Linked DNA regions of Homo sapiens: regions 2, 3, 4 and 5 are each linked to region 1. Evidence: promoter capture Hi-C in human tissues and cell types (Jung and others, 2019). All regions are on one chromosome and are shown on one strand. The core of a region is centred on a gene start or on the middle of the fragment in contact, and the rest is flanking DNA. Distances in the headings are between cores, read along the strand shown.

Region 1 (3,662 bases), core at 252-2,751:
TTACTGAATCCCAGTAGGGATTGTGAACTTCAAATATCTGAGACAGGTCTCAGTCAAATTAGAAGGTTCATTTTGTCAAGGTTAAGGATGGGCGCCCGTGACGCATAAAACCAAGCTTAGCTGGACCTGGTGGTGTGGTCCTGTCATCCCAGCTACTTAGGAGGCCAAGGTTGGGGGATCCCTTGAGCCTGGAAGGTTGATGCTGCAGCCTTAATTGTGCCGTTGCACTCCAGCCTGGGTGACAGAGTGAGACCTTGTCTCTAAAAAATTAAATATAAGCAAATAAAAATGCAGTTATTAGATAAATAAATGGGAAGACACATTATTGTCAAGACACAGACCACACTTGCCTATTTCATAAAATTCCTTTAGTTGCTGCTCCCCCAACTGCATTAATATGTGTGATGTCACTTTCCAAAACTGTGTAAAACACATAAATAATTCTGATTATAAAATCAATTTCTCTCCATGTGAGGTCAGACAGACACCGTCTACAATTCTGTTTCTCAAGAGTTGCCCGGGAACTAGTACATTATCATTCAGTTAGTAAAGCAACCATGACAACGGTTTCAAGATGGAAGGTGTTAAGAAAGTACTAATTATTAGAACATTTAAAAAATTGTATTCAGATTTCAGCAGTGGCTCAATACGTGTGGTCCCCAGACCAGTAGCATCAGCATCACCTGGGAACTTGGCAGAAATGCAGATTCTGGAGCCTCACGCCAGACCTCCAGCCTTAGCAACTCTGGGGGTGGGGCCCAGCCATCTGCATCTTAATGAAGTCCTCAAAGTGAGGCTGCCCAGCTCTAAGACCGAGGGCCAGGGATTTACACTTGGCCTTTCTGCTTAGCGGTCCAAGAACCTCACCCGGGGGCATCACCTGGGGACAATTTAGAAGTGCAGACTTTTGGGCTGCACCCCAGAGCCACTGAATGTGAACCCGCCCCTAGCCTAACACGACCCCCAGAGAATTCACGTCTGAAAAGCCTTGGTCTGTATTACGATCTCTGCATGAGGTAAGAAGGACTTCTTCTCCAGTTAGGTTAAAAAAACTGGCTACCTAAGTGGAGAAGCGGTGAAATTGTTTTAAAACATCCAACCCACTGAGCCCAATGCACCACAAACTGCTTGCTTATCACGCTCGAGCAATGACAGGGCTCGGTGGCAGGCGGGGTAAAAAGGGGGGACCTGGACCAGGACACTCAGGGACCAGCGCTCTGCTTGCCAGGTGGGTCCCCAGGAACAGGTGTGACTGGTGGGAAGGGTCGCGAAGGGGGGCGATCTTTCTGCGCAGGGGAGGGAAATGAAAGGAACGGGAAGGGGACGGCTGGGTGCGAGGCCCGGGATGTTCCGGGGAGCGCTGCCGGGTGCCAGGGAGCAGCCCCTCCCCGGGGGGAGGCCCGAGGGCAGGGGTCGGGGGCGGGGAGGGAGGTGGGCCCCAGACCGGCGCGGGGGCGGGCGGCTCCGCTGCACCCCGCCCCCGGCCCGCCCCTCCGCGGCGCCATTTTGCAGGCGGCTGTCGCGGGGACCGGAGGCGGAGGCTGCAGCGGGCACTGCGGCGCCGAGGCGCGGCGGCAGGACGGGAACCACGCGAGCTGCAGCCAGGTGAGAGCCCGGCCGCCGCGCCCCCTGCCCGGCCTGCGGGCCGCACCTGCCGGCGGGGCCGCGAGGTGCTCGCCGCGCCCACGAGGCCGGCCTGGCACGGCCCCCGCGCGCTGTCACCCACCGGCCCCGCGGCGCGGCCTGCGCGCCCCCACCCCGACCCATCTCCCGGGACCCCGCGCCCGCCGGCCACCCTGGCCCCGGGGCCCAAGATGCCCGGCGGCCCTCAGCTCCTGCCGTTCTGCCGGCCGGGCCGGGCCCCCGGGGTACCCACCCCTTCCCGCCACGGGAGCCACAGCGCGCTCGGGCCCTCAGGCCGCGCAGCGGGGAGGCAAATGGGGCGCCCCCAGAACCCCACTGGCTGCCGCCGCCTCCTCCCGGGCTCTGCGCCCGCGCGTCCTGGGGTCGCTTCCCTCGCCCCTCCCCCGGTGGTGCGCACGGGCATCGTCTCGCCCCCTGGAATTCAGGGGCATCAGGAGGGGCGGCAAGAGGGTGCCTTTTACATTCTTGCTTTCTTCCCTTCTACAAAGACTGCGCGAAGTAATTTTAGAAGCAGCTCCTCCGACCCCGGGGCCTTTCTGGCCTGTTCCCTGGGGGGTCGCGAGTCCCCCTCCTTGCCACCTTTCGGGGGGAAAAAATGACATTTCGAGTGTGACTACTTTAAGGCGCAGGATTTTCTCCTTCGTTTGGTCCTAGATGCCCCCCCTTGGATGGGTGGCTGATAGGATGTCGGCCTGCAGGCTGGGGGTTTAAGCGTGACTGATGGGAAATTATCGATTGTCAGGGCAAAGGGTAAATGAGGGCAACTGCAGGTGGAAGAAAGTCACCCATAAGGGCTTTCTGGGTCTGCAGCGTTTGTAGTAGGTGCTACTTCTATTCTTGCAGTGCTGGGAGACGGGCGGGGGAAGATGCAGTCCCTGCTGACAATTGGGTCATCTGCGCGCAGAGAAGGCCCCGGGATGTGCGAGGACATGGGACTGGGAGTCCGGAGGCAGTCTGGTTTGAGCTGTCACTAATTGGCCATGTGACCTCCCTCAGCCGGCTTCGTCCTCTCTGAAGCAAAAGGCTGGAATTGGGGTGGCTGGAGCATTTTTATTTTATGCTTTTGTATTTGAATGCTGTTGGGTTTGGGCCTCACCGTTTCTGGTTGTCTACACCTGCCTTTTTCACCGTTGCAGGTGACGTTGCCTGCCTCCCCTGAAGGTGTTTGAACCTGGTGAGATGTATAAAGGGCCCTTTTCAGCTCAAAAAATCAGAATTCTGTGCTGGGTTATGGTTGGCTCTATCAGGGTCACTTATGAACGTATTACTACTGTTCTCTTTTCATTCATCCCCAATTTAATGGCTTTTGGGCACCAGTGGGTGTGCCCAGTGTAAGCTCTCATGGCACACCTGCTAGTTAAAGGGAGGCAGCAGGTGTGTCCAGCCTGTTCCATGTGACATCCTGAGCATGAGGTATCTGCTTTCTAGGCTATTTCCTTTGCCAAAATGGCAACCAGCTTCTTTCTTTTAATACCAAGGCATTTCTCTTTTGGTTTCTTTGCTTAGAGTGGAGGGTGATTTTTTAAGACAATAGGTATTTCAGGAACTTTTTATGTTGACAGTATTTTAGATGGTTGTCTGGCAGTTGTATTCTCTGACTGTGGCACGGTCAATTAAGTCAATTAAGTTTAAACATCTGTTGACATGTTTAAAAAATGCCTATTGAAGTACCTGGGCCGGGTGTTGTGGTTCACACCTGTAATCCCAGCACTTTGGGAGGCTGAGGTGGGAGGATTGTTTGAGGCCAAGAGTTCAAGACCAGCCTAGGCAACCCAGCAAGACTCCTGTTTCTATAAAAAAAAAAAAAAAATAGCTGAGTATGGCGGCCAGCTTAAAAAAAACCAGTACCTGGCTAGAAAAATGTAGATGGTTTTGCTAGGTTTCATGCCATACTATCTATCTCATTGATGGAGCAAACTCTAGTCTATGTAGCATTGCAGAAGTGAGTCATGTGTCCCGGGGCAGGCAAGCACATGTAGCCACCCACTGAGTAGTCTGTCCATCTGTGTCTGCCCATC
Region 2 (3,602 bases), core at 243-2,742, 230 kb after region 1:
TGAAGAAGTTGGAGCAGATCCACATACATCGTGACCAGAATCCGAACCCTACATCTCTCTTCTTAATGATCAGATACCTTCACCCTAATAATCCCAATGATACAAGAAGAGTGACAGAGACTACGCTGAGACTTTCTTGTTCCCAAATGTAACTTTGACTATGATCCCAAGGGCTCTAAACTCTAATAACTCCAATCTTAAACCCTAAACCCTAAATAATGATAAAACATTATTAAGATACTCAACTGTGGCTGGGCGCGGTGGCTCATGCCTGTAATCCTAGCACTTTGGGAGGCTGAAGTGGGCGGATCACAAGGTCAGGAGATCAAGACCATCCTGACTAACACAGTGAAACCCCGTCTCTACTAAAAATACAAAAAATTAGCCGGGCATGGTGGTGGGTGCCTGTAGTCCCAGCTACTTGGGAGGCTGAGGCAGGAGAATGGCGTGAACCCGGGAGGCGGAGCTTGCAGTGAGCTGAGATTGTGCCACTGCACTCCAGCCTGGGCGACAGAGCAAGACTCCATCTCAAAAAAAAAAAAAAAGATACTGAACTGTGAGGCTAACTCTGAAACTCCTGATGGACATCATCAGACTCTTCACCACGGCACTCCCTACCCTGGGCCCACGTGCATGCCCATCACCTGAGGATGTTATTATAAAGTAATATGAACTCACATTTCTAAAATAGATTTATTCCACTTTTGAACCGGGATCCAAAAATCCACTTGAGGACCACGAGCCATGTTTTTCTCATTTTAATCACCAAAATTCATCCGGAATTGAGGTAAAAAATAATGCAGATTTGGTGCTTTATGAGATGAAATATAAGTTACCCCTGCAGCAGTAAAGTTGCTCTTCAGGCCAGTGTGACATTAAGCATGTTGAAAAAGAGGGGGGCAAAGTCCCAGGAGTAGCTACTTAAAGGACAAGAATTCATGTGGGATATTATAAATGAATTATGCTCAGGGACAATGACTTAAACTGCTTTATCCCCTCAAGAAGGATGCTCCAAAAATGCATCTCCCAGAAAATTCAAGATCCAGAATACTGTCTTTTTTGGGGGGACATATTGAAAGATAACATTTTAGTTTCAATGGACTATATAAATGAGATTCAAGTCCTGGTAATAAAGATGGGTCTGTGTAATAATTTCTTCATTCAGAATTTGTAGAGGAAGGATATTAAAGCCTACAGACCTGTCACCCCACCAATTCTACTAGCTGAAAGTAGATGCCAAGACGTAATGTTAAGTGAAAATAGTTGGTGAAAGATACATACATGATGATACTATTTATGTATCATACACACACAAAAGTTGATCTTTGTATATATATAAAATCCTTACATATATTAATAGATACATAGATCTCAATAGACTCTAAGAGATCTTAAGCCTTTTTTTTTTTTTTTTTTTTTTAAGATGGAGTTTCGCTCTTATTGCCCAGGCTGGAGTACAATGCTGTGATCTCGGCTTACTGCAATGTCTGCCTCCCAGGTTCAAATGATTCTCCTGCCTCAGCCTCCTGAGTAGCTGGGATTACAGTTGTCTGCCACCATGCTTGGCTAATTTTTTGTGTTTTTAGTACAGATGGGGTTTCACCATGTTGGCCAGGCTGGTCTTGAACTCCTGACCTCAGGTGATCCACCCACCTTGGCCTCCCAAAGTGCTGGGATTACAGGCGTAAACCACTGCACCCGGCCAGATCTTAAGCCTTATACCTCCTTAAGGACCCTTAAAACTTCAGATTTGCTTTAAATGACTCTAAACCCCAACGGTCTTTATATATATATATATAAACCGTTGGAAGGATATAATTGTTAAGGGTTATCGTGAGGCAAGGATGGGGGCTGGGGGTGGCGGCTTTACTTGTGATCAATTAACTTTTTTCAAAACACAGTTTGTCTTTTCTTCAATGATAGACATGCACATGGTTAAGAAAGTCAAACAAAACCAGCTCTCTTTTGCTCCTACCATGCTCTACCTCCCCTTCCTTCCCACGGCCTTCAATTCTTCTAGCTGATTCTTTGGTACTTGCCATCTTATCTGTAAGTAGCATGTTGGTGTTTCTCTTCCTGATTTGCTCATCTGGGGCCTTATCTTTCTCTACCTCCCTCCCCAATTCTTGGGTCTCCGTCCTGCCAATCATAATTTTTGGTTAGCGCACATCTGCCTTTATGTTGTATAATTGTATAAACATGCTCTCTAAAGCTGAATGTATACTGTATTTGGCTTATTTTTCCATTTTTAGCACAACTTTTTGTTTTCCTTGAAGTTAAAAATTGTCCTTCTGTTTGCTTAGGTTTTCAATGTATTTTTCATGAATTCAGCCCATATTTGTCCCAAATTCTCTAAACCTTTCATATGTTCAGTCTCCCCCAGCATTCTATCCATTGTATCTCCTTGAGGACCTGTCTCCGGGGTGACTCTCAGCCTGGTGCTGGTTGTCAGCAGGGGTCTGTCTTCGTCATCTCCTGGGGTTCATGTAGCACACACACACACTCTCTCCATCTTTATTTCCTCTTTCCTGCAAACCACACCTTCCTCTTTTGGACTGACTTTCTGCTACTAGCAGGATTGCAAATTCTGACTTCTCAGGCAATGCTGCCCTGTAGAAGTGAAAGTTCCATGGGATTCAGGAATTCCTGATTTTTCAAGAAAATCCAGAAACCCAGAAACCCAGATTATTATCAGAATCTCTGGTTTTTAAAAACTGTGGTAGACAGGAAAAGATTGTCACTTGTATTGGCTTGTAGGCCACCACTTGGTTATCTCTACTCTAGTTAACTCAGTCTAACTAAAGTTAAACTGGTCCCCCAGGCCATGCCTATATCCTTTTGCTCTATAGTTTGAGATTATTAAGACTTTAGGCCAGGCGCGGTGGCTCATGCCTGTAATCCCAGCAGTTTGGGAGGCTGAGGCAGGCGGATCCCTTGAGGTTAGGAGTTTGCGACCAGCCTGGCCAACACAGCAAAACCCCGTCTTTACTAAAAATACAAAAATTAGCCAGGCACGGTGGCACATGCCTGTAGTCCCAGCTACTCAGGAGGCTGAGGCAGGGGAATCGCTTGAACCCAGGAGGCAGAGGTTGCAGTGAGCCAAGACCGTGCCACTGCACTCCAGCCTGGGCAACAGAGTGAGACTCTGTCGCAAAAAAAAAAAAAAAAAATTATTAAGACTTTAGAAGTCTATATGTTTAGAAGATTACAGAAGAAAACACATGTGTTTCCCCACCCAAAAACAAATGGAGGGGAGCTGCTGGCCTTACAAGATTTGTTGAAGGTTTCTTTAGTCACAGGGGTTTGGCTTGGGGCTTGACATTTGGGGCAGATACTAGTTGTGGAACCTAGGTTTGCCCCCTCCCTGAGATAAAGTTCATTACTCCTGCATCTCCATCATTCCAGCCACTGCAGGTGAGGTGCATGCCCTTGGCTGATAGGGCACAACCCTTCCACCTCAGCAGAACACCCTGGATGTCCCCGGGGCCTGGAAGGTGCGGAGGCAGCAGGGCCTCTCTCCTGAAGTCCCAGCAGGGGAGCACACCTGCCTCAAGGTCTGGCAGGCATTTGGCTGCACAATTGTCCCACAGGCCCATGTGGTC
Region 3 (3,338 bases), core at 684-3,183, 130 kb after region 1:
TCACTGCTTACAGGTTTTTTTTGTTTTTTTTTTGTTTGTTTGTTTTTAATTTAAAAAGACCCAGGGTCTCACCGTGTTGCCCAGGCTACAGTGCAGTGGCTATTCAGAGGCACAATCGTAATGCACCACACTCTTGAACTCCTGGGCTCAAGCAATCCTCCCACCTCAGCACCTTGAGTAGCTGAGACTGCAGGTGTGCACCACCATACTTGGCTATACAGTGCTATTTCTACATTGCAAAAATTACCTGTTTTTTTCCCTGTTTCCCCACCCAATCTTGGCTGCCACAATCGGACAGACAGAAAGCACAAGGATACCGTTTGCTCTCCCCTGTAGTGGAAACCTTAGCAGCAGGCAGTATGCCCCAGGTCTGTCAATTAGATACGTTCCAATTGTCCCCAAGGGTAAGCACTGTGTAATCTATGCACAGTTACAGTTTATATAAATAGGGACAGGAATAGCAGAAATGAATGAAATCTGTGGGATCTAGGGCTTATGAACTATGGGGTTTATGATTAGCTTTTAGAAGTTGTCAGATGATTGCCCCTGAGGAGTCTGCAGAGAAAAGAAAACAGCCCAGATCCCCTCCTGTTCTCCAGCCAGCTCTGTAACCCCAGAAGGGACTGTGTGTGATGAGATTAATGGACTGGGCCTTGGCTCTGGTACCTGATGTCCCCATCTTTCTCTAATGGAGCTGCTGCACATGATTAAATACCTGTATATCAGTATGTTTAAAAGTGTCAGTACTTATGAAATTATAAAACATTTCCTTCCTGATGAAACTGGATTTTAAGAGTAAAGGATCACATCAATGTTTTATTTCCATAGACGGCCCATGTTTGTCTTATACCCCAACAAATGGCTTTATTTTCTGGCTAAAATCCTTTGCTTTCATTTGCGGTGATTTAAAAACACTCAAATCTAACGTGTGATTTAGAGATGTGCTTCTCAAAATGGAATGAGCTTTGGGGGTTCTGTTAAAATGCAGATTCTGGCCGGGCACAGTGGCTCACGCCTGTAATCCCAACATTTTGGGAGGCTGAGGCAGGCGGATCACCCTGAGGTCAGGAATTCCACACCAGCCTGGCCACATGGTGAAACCCCGTCTCTACTAAAAATACAAAAATTAGCCAGGCATGGTGGTGCAAACCTGTAATCCCAGCTACTCGGGAGGCAGGAGAATCTCTTGAACCCAGGAGGTGGAGGTTGCAGTGAGCCAAGATCGCGTCACTGCATTCCAGCCTAGGTGACGGAGTGAGACACTCTCTAAAAAAAAAAAAAAAAAAAAAAAAAATGCAGATTCTTTTCTGCTTCAGCAGGTCTGGGGTGGGGTCTGAGATTGTATTTTTAATCGCCCTCCCAGCTCCCAGGAGATGTGGAAGCTGCAGGCTCTGGACCACATTTTTGGATTGTAGATGTGTAGAGGCTATTTCAGAGTGAATGCATTATCCCATTGAATGATTTTCTTTCCTCCATTCCTTTACATCTTAGGGGAATTTTCGTGGAAGGCCTCTCCTGTGTTCTTGATGGCATATTTGGTACTGGGAATGGCTCTACTTCATCCAGTCCCAACATTGGAGTTTTGGGAATTACAAAGGTACACAGATTTTTCTAATTAAATGATTGGGTTTCTAAGCATTGGTCCATTTCATTGATCGATCTGGCCACTGCAAGTTCCAAATGGGCGGGCCTCTGGTTCTAAAAAATTACTTCTCTCCTTTTTTTTTTTTTTTTTTTTTTTAAGTGTTTATAATGCCTGTTTGGAAGTCTCTCTTCTCTTGCTGGTCCGGGTAGGGAGGCACTCAGTGCTGTCATTCCATCATGCAGTATAGATATTTATAAAGCACTGACTCTGCCAGGCCACTGTTCAAGGCACTTGGGATACATCAGTGAATTAAAAAGTGGAGTTTACATTCTAGCAATCAACAATCAGCATACTAAGTCCATAAATGATGCATTATGTCAGCCAGTGACAAGTACTGGGGGAAACATGGGACAGGAAGCTTGGGGAGAGGGTGATCAGGTGACCTGAACACAGACCTGAAGGGTGGAGGGAGGGAGCCTGCAAATAACCTGGGGGAGAGCGTTCCAGGCCAGGGTGTGGCCAGGGCCGAGCCCTATCCTGGAAGTGGAAGGTCAGCAAGGAGGCCAGTGCGGGTCAGGGAGTCAGAGCAGGTGGGGTCTGCCGGGTAACTGGGGAGCAGGTTACACAGGCAGGCAGGTAGGTAGGCAGCCACAGACTGCCTGAGTGGAAGGGAGTGCTGCAGGGAGCAGCTTGGTCAGATTTTTTTTTTTTTTTTTTTTTTTTTAGGGATCGCTTTGACTGCAGTGATGAGAATAGACCATGGGGGGCTGGGCAAAAGGTAGAAATGGGATCCCAACTGGGAGGTGTCACTAGTTTTAAATTAAGAGATGACCCACCATTGGCCATGGTATGTTGTGAAACTAAGACCATGAAAATTGGTTCACCATCCTCGATGGCCTACGTCTCACAGGTCTCCCTCACTGAGGACTTGGGGTGAGCCCGGAAACCTTCTAGAACTGGTTGACCTCTGTCAAATTGGGAGGGAGGAGTGGATTTCAAAAGAGCTCTCCTTTGCCATGTAAGATTCTATAATCAGATAAAGAGAAACCAGATACTAAGTTTGATTAACCTTGATTGCAAATCCAGGTGAGAGGGAGCTGCCAGGCAGGCACACACATGCCTGGTTTGTTTGTTGGTTTCCCCAGGTTGGCAGGGCCCTGCCAGAGCTCAGCCTGAGGTGTGCCAATGGCCCCATCTGCCTGTTGCTCCCTGTATGGGGGATGTGAGGGAAGGTTGTCTGAGGGGCGCTTCCTCTAGCGCCATCCTGGAGGTCCTTTTGCTACCCATGGTGAGAAGCCAGTGCTGAGCACAGGGAGATGAGGGAAGGATCTCATGGGCACAGAATGGGGCCTAAGCCATGCCACTCTTCAGCCAGTTTGCTGCCATGAGCTTGCAGGCATATAACTAATCCCAAATCTCAAATAAGATAGCCGGCCCTCTGTATCTGTGGGTTCTACCAACTTCAATTCAAAAATATTGTTTCTGAACTAATATTGTTTGTTTCTGTACTGTTCTGGGTGAGCATGTACAAACTTTTTGTTGTCATTATTCTCTGAACAATGCAGTCTGACAACGATTTACAGAGCAATTACATTGTATTAAGGATTGTAAGTAATGTCGAGATGATTTAAAGTATATGGGAGGATATTGGCTGGGTACGGTGGCTCACACCTGTAATCCCAGCAGTTTGGGAGGCCGAGGTGGGCAGATCACCTGAGGTCAGGAGTTCGAGACCAGCCTGGCCAACATGTTG
Region 4 (3,689 bases), core at 584-3,083, 200 kb before region 1:
CCTCACAATGATCCGGGGGTGAGTATAATCCCCGTATAGTATAAATGGTATTATCTCCTGTTTTACAGACAAGGAGACTGAAGCGCAGAAAGGTTAAATAACTTGCCCAAGGCCACACAGACACTAAGGGATGGAGTCAGGAATCGAACTCAGGCACTTCCCCAGCCCAAATGGAAAAGAAGACAAGCCATTCCTCCTTTATGGATTTGGTAAGGATGGCTGTGGAGGAGGTTCTAGCACCTGGACAATGCCATGAAATAGTCAGCATTCCAGTGTGAATTTCAGTTCGAGCTGGCCTGGGTGGGTTCAATGCAAGGTCAGCCACGGCTACCACTTCATTCCCCTCCCCTTCATTCCCAAGAACTCCCTTCCCTCTCTGTGCCCCTAGCCTCAATGTCCCGCCCTGCCTCTGCCTTTGCTGGAACATTTCTCTGCTTCTTCCCCGGCATCCCTGAGAAATTCACTTCTCAGCCAAGGTGGTAACATTACAAATAAAAGTTTAAAATAGTGCAAATAAAACTTTCTGTTGGATGATTACTAGATGCTAGGAGTAGACACGTGCTTTGCAAATTTTCTCAATTACCCTTATTTTATAGAGGGGGAAGCTGAGTTGTTAAGGGTTTTGTTCCAGATTACAAAGCTAGTGAATGCTGCGCTAGGATCCTCTGCGGATAAGGATGTCTCACTTCTAAGCCCTGCCTGTGCCTCACTCCTAAACTACTACTGCCCTCTGCTGGGCCCGTGACAGCACTGCCTCACTATGCTGCCTCACTATGCTACAGCAGCAGCCCCAGGCGTCTCTATCACAGAAAGGAAGGGGTGGCCAGGAAGAGTATTTCTTGTTCTCAAAGCTCCTGCAGAGCTCCTCAGATTGCACCAGTCAAAAACATATTATTAATATTCTTTGCTATTATGGACACTATTGGGGTAACTGGTGAAATCTGAATAAGGTTATATAACAGTAAAGGGGCATGTCTACGACTTACAAATAATTAAGAAAAAAAAGTGTGTGTGTGGAGTGAGAACATAAACAAATGTGCCAAAATGTTAACATTTGGAAAATTTGGGTGAAGGATGTAGGAAATTCTTTATACTATTCTTACAACTTTTCTGTAAGTCTAAAACTATTCAAAATACAAAGTTAAATAATTACAACTTCAGGAAGCCACCAACCCCAGCTCCCCAGATTCAGGAGGTTCTCTAATAACTGACAGATTACCAGAGGGCTCCCTCCTGGCCCCACTTCCTGATGAACACCATGGTCGACAGGGAATTTAGGGGCCCGTGAGGCTCTGGCGGGGAAGAAGCTCACTCTTGGGCAGTGGCTACGGGTATCGTCAGTGCCCACAGGATCCCATGAATGCCCCCTCTAACACATGCACTGGTGCACAACTACAGGCAGTGACTGGGGACCCCCAAAAAGGATAAGCTTGTGGGTATCCAGAACTGGTCAGCATAGTGAAGGGAGTGGGAGGCATTTCTCGTGAGGAAGAGTGAAAAGAACAAGATGGAAAACTTGGGAAGAGAAGGCTGGGCAGCAAGGGGAAGGCCAGGAGGCACTTAAGAATCATTGTAGACATGTGTTATGCAAAAGAGGAATCAGATTCAGTCTATGAGGTGTAAGAAGACAGAAGGAGGCCGGGCATGGTGGGTCAGGCCCGTAATCCCAGCACTATGGGAGGCCGTGGCAGGCGGATCACCTGAGGTCAGGAGTTCAAGACCAGCCTGGCCAACATGGTGAAACCTCATCTCTACTAAAAAATACAAAAATTAGCTGGGTGTGATGGCGGGCACCTGTAATCCCAACTACTCAGGAGGCTGAGGCAGGAGAATTGCTTGAACCTGGGAGGCAGAGGTTGCAGTGAGCTGAGATTGAGCCACTGCACTCCAGCCTGGGTAACAGAGCAAGACTCTGTCTCAAAAAAAAAAAAAAAAGGCAGAAGACAGGAGTCCTGGGCAAAGGCACTGGGAGGCACACACCATTCTGCCCTATAGCTTGTGATGTAGAATAATAGCACTGGATGGAACAGCAACATTACCTACCCCAGAAGGGTCACCTCGGGACATCCTGAGGCTCACCCTGGGGATGCTCCAGCACAGGGTGCTGACCAGTTATGATGGGTTTCTGAGAGGGGCTGGACTCACTAGAGGAAGTTTCAATCACTGTTTCTCAACCTCAGCTACACTTTGGAGTAAGTCCAGGGAACTGCTTTTTTTAAAACTCATGCCTGCATCCCACCCCCAGAGACTCTTATCTCATTGGTCTGAGATACTGCCTGGGCACTGGTAGTTTTTTAGGTTCCTCAGGCAATTCTAATGTGCAGCCAAGTTTGAGAATCAATGGCTTCAAAGGCTCTACCTCTAAGGCTCCTGGAATCTACGAGAAATAGAGACCATGTGGGCAAGATCAGAGAGCCCATCTTAGCTGCAGGAATAACTTCAGTTGCCTCAGTCAAATCCACCATCGGTCAAATCTTTGCTGCAGGAATAACTTCAGTTCCCTTGGTCAAATCCAGATCAGAATTTACCCTGAACCTAGACTCAGTCTGATGGATGTGCTTTTTACCCTAAAAATGTGTTTAAGTTTGTTAAAATTGAGAAGTGATATTAACGGAAATGGCACAATGGTGTTTATTTCATTTGAGAACTCCCTAAGTTTTGGTTGATTTGGGAACTGGCAGTGTCCTTTGGTAAATATTGGATGGCGTGTAAGTGAGTACGCCATGGCCAGGCCATGAGTCCATCTCTGGGACTTCCCACCCCGACTGCCTGGCCTCTAAATAATCAAATAGAGAAGTTACTCTTGCTTTGTTTCCCTTCCTCTCCTTTCCCAGGAGACCAAAAGGTAAAGCTGCCCTTTCTTCTCAAGGGAAGAGCACTCAGGCCTCTAGAATTCTGGCCCCAGGAGAAAATTAATAGCTGCTTCTGCTGTGAGGTGGGAGTGGGGCCACCTGAAGGCAACTCTACCCAGGCCTTTCCCCAGGCCTGAAGGCTGGATTGTCTTATTGAAGGGAAGGGAGTAGCCCTAGCTAAAAAGTAGATCCTCAAGTCCAAAACGACGGAGGGGCTCATCTCCAGACCTTAGCTCCTCTCCGTCGATGATTTTATCCAGTCTTCCGGCTCCTGGTGTAGAATAACGCGCACACCCTCATCACTCTCAAATTTCTATTTCCATCTCGGACTACTCCCCAGGACTGGACATCCCTGTGTGGGTATCTCACAGGCATCTCAAACCTAGCGTGTCCAAACCCAAACTCCTGACTGACCCTCTCTAATCCACCTCCCACCTGCACCTGTCCTCCCACAGCCGTCCACAGTTTAGAAATGGCAGCACCATCCTTCCGGCCGCCCAAGCCAACTTCACAGCCCTCCTTGACTCCTCTTCGTCCCTCTCCTCCATACCTAATCCTTCTGCAGATTCTGACAATCTGACCATTTCTCACCACCGCCCCACTCCCATATCCCCTGCTGAGCCACGTGTGTGTGTGTGTGTGTGTGTGTGTGTGTCTGTGTGTGTGTGTCTGTGTGTGTGTGTGTCTGTCTCTCTCTCTTCTGGATCGCTGCTGTTGCCTCCTCTCTGATCACCCTGCTTTCACCCTTGGCCCACTGTAGTCTGTTCTCAACATAGCAGCCCTTTGCAAACAAACACCACTTTGACACTCCTAGGCTCTGAACTCCCCAACAGCTTC
Region 5 (3,736 bases), core at 869-3,368, 180 kb before region 1:
GATAACTATAGCTTTGCGAACAATGATTACTTGTTAAGAACCTTTCTTTCATAAAACCCCATTCTCTTAACCATGTCACCTTTTAAAGCTCCCCCAAATATGGTTTCCTTGTTCCCTATCTTATATCCTCCTCCCTTTGGTTCCCTTTCTGTTTCAATCAGTCATTCGAATAGTTTTATATTAGAAAACGATATACTAATTAAGTGACTACACTCAAATCCAGATCAAAGTCCCAAAAAATGTGTCCCCAAAAAAGATTATATAAATCTGTAAAAATATTTTCCTTTCTTTTTTCAAGACACGATCTTGCCCCATCACCCAGGCTGGAGTATAGTGGCACTATCACAGCTCCTTGAAGCCTCAACCTCCTGGGCTCAAGAGATCCTCCCATCTCAGCCTCCCAAGGAGCTGGGACTACAGGTGCATGCTACCACCATGCCTGGCTAATTTTTAAATGTTTTAGTAAAGGCAAGGCCTCACTAAGTTCCCCAGGCTGCTTTTGAACACCTGGCCTCAAGCAATCCTCCTGCCTCAGCATCCCATAGTGCTAGGATTACAGGCATGACCCACCACGCCCAGCCTATTTTCTTTATTATCTTTTTTTTTTTTTAATCAGTTGTCAGTGTTTTCCTTTGGCCTTTCTCCAGGAAGACATGAAGACATGGCCACAATACAACACAGCTAGATTTCTTCTGTCTGCCAGGCTGATCTACTCACATTGAGAGCACCACCCTCCCCTCACAGTGGTATTTCACATTAGGGTAATCCATTTACCTTGATGAGTGGGGTCCGACCAAAGAAAAAGCCAAACATATAGGCCATGATGTCATTACAGATCACACAAGATATGGGGACAATGAACCTAGAAATGAACCAAAGTAAGGATCAACTCAAGCAAGGTGACAGTACCTCAAAAGTACACAAAATAGTGCCATTCTTAAATTCCAGCACCAAAATCACCCATAAAATTCTGGTAACCCATTAAGGAGTAAGTTAAAAACATAAAAAATACCAAAAAAGTCATACCTAGTACCTAGCACAGAGTACATATTCAAGTGTTTACTGAATGACTACTGAATAAGTGGAGGTTGCAAACTAAAAGGTCATCTGTCCTTTTTTCATGATAAAGAAATATACGTAAACAATGAGAGAAATTTAATTGTAAAAGGAACAAAAAGTTTTCCTTCTTTCTCCCATCCCTATCTCCATTCCCAAAAATAACCACTTCTAATCGTTTCTAATTTTTATTTTTCTAGTGGTTACCTCCCCAATTCTAAATAGTATGCTTTAATGACTCTTTCATTATTTACTGACTTTTCTTGCTGTTTATTACTAGCTCTAGTTGGCCCTATCTTTCCCCAGGACTGTATTTGAGTGTGAAACCCCAACACGCACAGCTAGATTTCCCCTCTGCCCACTCCCCTGCTGATCCAGTCATCCTCACTATGAAAGAGGTGGTTTCCACACTTGTTCTCTCTCTCCTCACCCTCCACTCCCTGACACTGACACTTTTTAAAAAGTTCTTTGATTACAGGTTTGTTTGTTTGTTTCTGTTTTTGTTTTTGAGACAGAGTCTCTGTTGCCCAGGCTGGAGTGCAGTGACACAATCTCGGCTCACTGCAACCTCCACCCCCAGGTTAAGTGATTCTCCTGCCTCAGCCTCCGGAATAGCTAGGATTACAGGCACCTGCCACGCCACCACACCAGCTATTTTTTTGTATTTTTAGTAGAGACGGGGATTTCACTATGTTGCCCAGGCCGGTCTTCAACTCCTGACCTCGTGATCCGCCTACCTTGGCCTCCAAAAGTGTTGGGTTACAGGCGTGAGCCACCGCGCCCGCCCTTTAACCTTTTCACTAAGATCACCTAGCTGCTTCAGTTGGCCAGTGATTTCTATCAATGCTGATACATGAAACCACTGCATTTTTGGAATAAAATCCACTCGGTATTTGCATATTATTCCCTTGACACACTGCCAGATTCTATTTGCTAGTATTTTATTTAGAATGATTTATCTATAATCGTAGCAGAAATGGGTTTATCATTCCTGCTTCTCTCTCCTCATTGGCTTTGGTATAAAGGTTAGATAAAACTCAGCTGTTAACCCATTTGGTCCTGTTTCTCTTTCCAGATATGGAATCTTACATAATTTTCAAAGCTCATTTACAGTTACTGATCTATTCACGTTTTCTTCTTCATGACTTTTAGTATATATTTTGTCAGGAAATCATGAATATTTCCTCTAGGTTTTCAAATCTGTTGCCATACATGTTGCATTGTCTTTGAGTCTTTAAATATTCCTGTACCTATTAGTCTAGAACAGTGGTTCTCAGAGCATAGGTCCTGTCCAGCAATATAAGCACCACCCAGGAATGTACTAGAAATTCAAATTCTCAAGCCTACCCCAGATCTAATGAATCAAAAAGTCAGGGGTGGGGTCCAGCAATCTGTGCTATAATGAACCCTGCAGAGGATTCTGATGTGGCTCAAGGTGAGGGCCACTGGCTTAGAGGGGGGTATCTGTACACGAGAAACACTCACAAAATAAAAGGGAAAATCCAACTCCCAATTCTCACCAGATCATTCCTTCAAATAGGTTGTGGATAACAAGATGTGACTGTGTTACAACAATCAGCAATGTCACATGGGTCCAGCCAAACTGCAAAAAAAAGAAAAATAAACACTACTTACCAGTTTACCTTGAAAGTAACTTCAAAGAACAATCAATACCAAATAGAAAACTGCTGAGAAGCAGGTAGGAAAAATATCTGCTTTTGTATCTGACTTATTGAAAGTGAACAGGTAAGATCAGGCTTCTGAGAGTAATACTTTGTCCCCCACAGCCCACTAGTGAGTGAGCTCTCCCATGCTCTGAAAGCCTGGGTATTTTTCATTTTCTTAGTAGTTATTGAGCACCTGGAGCACTCAGAGAGGAGCTGTTCTCTAGTGAGTCAGGGAATAAGTGGTAGCAAGTGATGTACCAGACAGGACATCTGTGGGCAGTGTCTGAAGCTTCAGCTTGTGCCTTCTCTGGAGCCCACCTCAGGGTCCTAGTGGAGAGGCTGCTTAAGGTGTAAGTAACAGTGACTGGGTCTAAGTCAACGTAGAGCCATTAAACCTAAATGGGCATTCTTCCTTCATGCTCTAGATGCATACATATCAGACCATGTTCCTGAGTTTTGATTTGTCACAGAAAGCATGAAAGGCTTGTTGAGTTCCTGAAAAACTTCATTTAAATCAAGAATTCTGACACACACGCATGCATTTCCTTTACCATGTAGAACTGCAGTCGATAATGCTTCTTGACCAGACTCAGTACAAACATGCAGAATCCTAGTTTGAGGTGGGAGGAGAAAAGAAAAATGAATTATGTTCTGCATTTATCTTTGCCCTCCTTTAGCTATGTTAAGTGGTTCTTTGGCTAATTTATTCCCAGCAGCTAACCAGTGCACAATGTCAAAGCCCAGGGGAGAAAAACATTACCCAGATAAACAGTCACAAGGAAAAAATAACTCCTCCCAAACAGTAAAAGGAAGGCAATATTTTATAATCATGCAGACCACACTAAACTTAGAACATGGTTCATCAGATAGGAATGTTTTATTCCTAGAACATGGGCCAGCAAACAGTGGTCAGGCCAGCTGCTTGTTTTTATAAATAAAGTTTTATTCAAACACAGTTATGTCCATTTGTTTACATATTGTCTATGGCTGCTTTCAAGCTACAACTCAGCAGA

The links. Contacts are between HindIII fragments. The study calls those that stand out against the background at their distance.
Region 2: a contact is called between a fragment that was not itself captured here and the fragment with the promoter of SLC23A2 in region 1, in 1 of the 25 tissues and cell types used here (IMR-90 fibroblasts).
Region 3: a fragment that was not itself captured here is called in contact with the fragment with the promoter of SLC23A2 in region 1 in 4 of the 25 tissues and cell types used here (bladder, heart right ventricle, pancreas and 1 more).
Region 4: a fragment that was not itself captured here is called in contact with the fragment with the promoter of SLC23A2 in region 1 in 1 of the 25 tissues and cell types used here (lymphoblastoid cells).
Region 5: a contact is called between a fragment that was not itself captured here and the fragment with the promoter of SLC23A2 in region 1, in 1 of the 25 tissues and cell types used here (thymus).

What each region holds. Positions count from the first base shown.
Region 1 is chr20:4,999,349-5,003,010 of GRCh38, reverse strand. It overlaps SLC23A2 (solute carrier family 23 member 2), which reads left to right and starts at 1,501. Exons shown (of 17, transcript NM_005116.6): 1 at 1,501-1,605. RefSeq lists enhancers at 1-171, 956-1,105, a promoter at 1,414-1,612 and silencers at 1,396-1,635, 1,826-1,985. The HindIII fragment of the contact is 14,848 bases long and covers 1-2,187 here.
Region 2 is chr20:4,765,755-4,769,356 of GRCh38, reverse strand. No RefSeq gene overlaps it. Among named protein-coding and RNA genes, the nearest start is that of PRNT, 27 kb to the right of the region's middle. The HindIII fragment of the contact is 6,418 bases long and covers 1-3,602 here.
Region 3 is chr20:4,866,029-4,869,366 of GRCh38, reverse strand. It overlaps SLC23A2 (solute carrier family 23 member 2), which reads left to right. Exons shown (of 17, transcript NM_005116.6): 13 at 1,492-1,597. Among named protein-coding and RNA genes, the nearest start is that of RASSF2, 44 kb to the right of the region's middle. The HindIII fragment of the contact is 5,571 bases long and covers 1-3,338 here.
Region 4 is chr20:5,202,614-5,206,302 of GRCh38, reverse strand. No RefSeq gene overlaps it. Among named protein-coding and RNA genes, the nearest start is that of CDS2, 77 kb to the right of the region's middle. The HindIII fragment of the contact is 3,450 bases long and covers 109-3,558 here.
Region 5 is chr20:5,181,984-5,185,719 of GRCh38, reverse strand. CDS2 (CDP-diacylglycerol synthase 2) reads right to left here. Exons shown (of 13, transcript NM_003818.4): 6 at 3,275-3,333; 7 at 2,577-2,659; 8 at 775-862. Among named protein-coding and RNA genes, the nearest start is that of CDS2, 57 kb to the right of the region's middle. The HindIII fragment of the contact is 3,477 bases long and covers 380-3,736 here.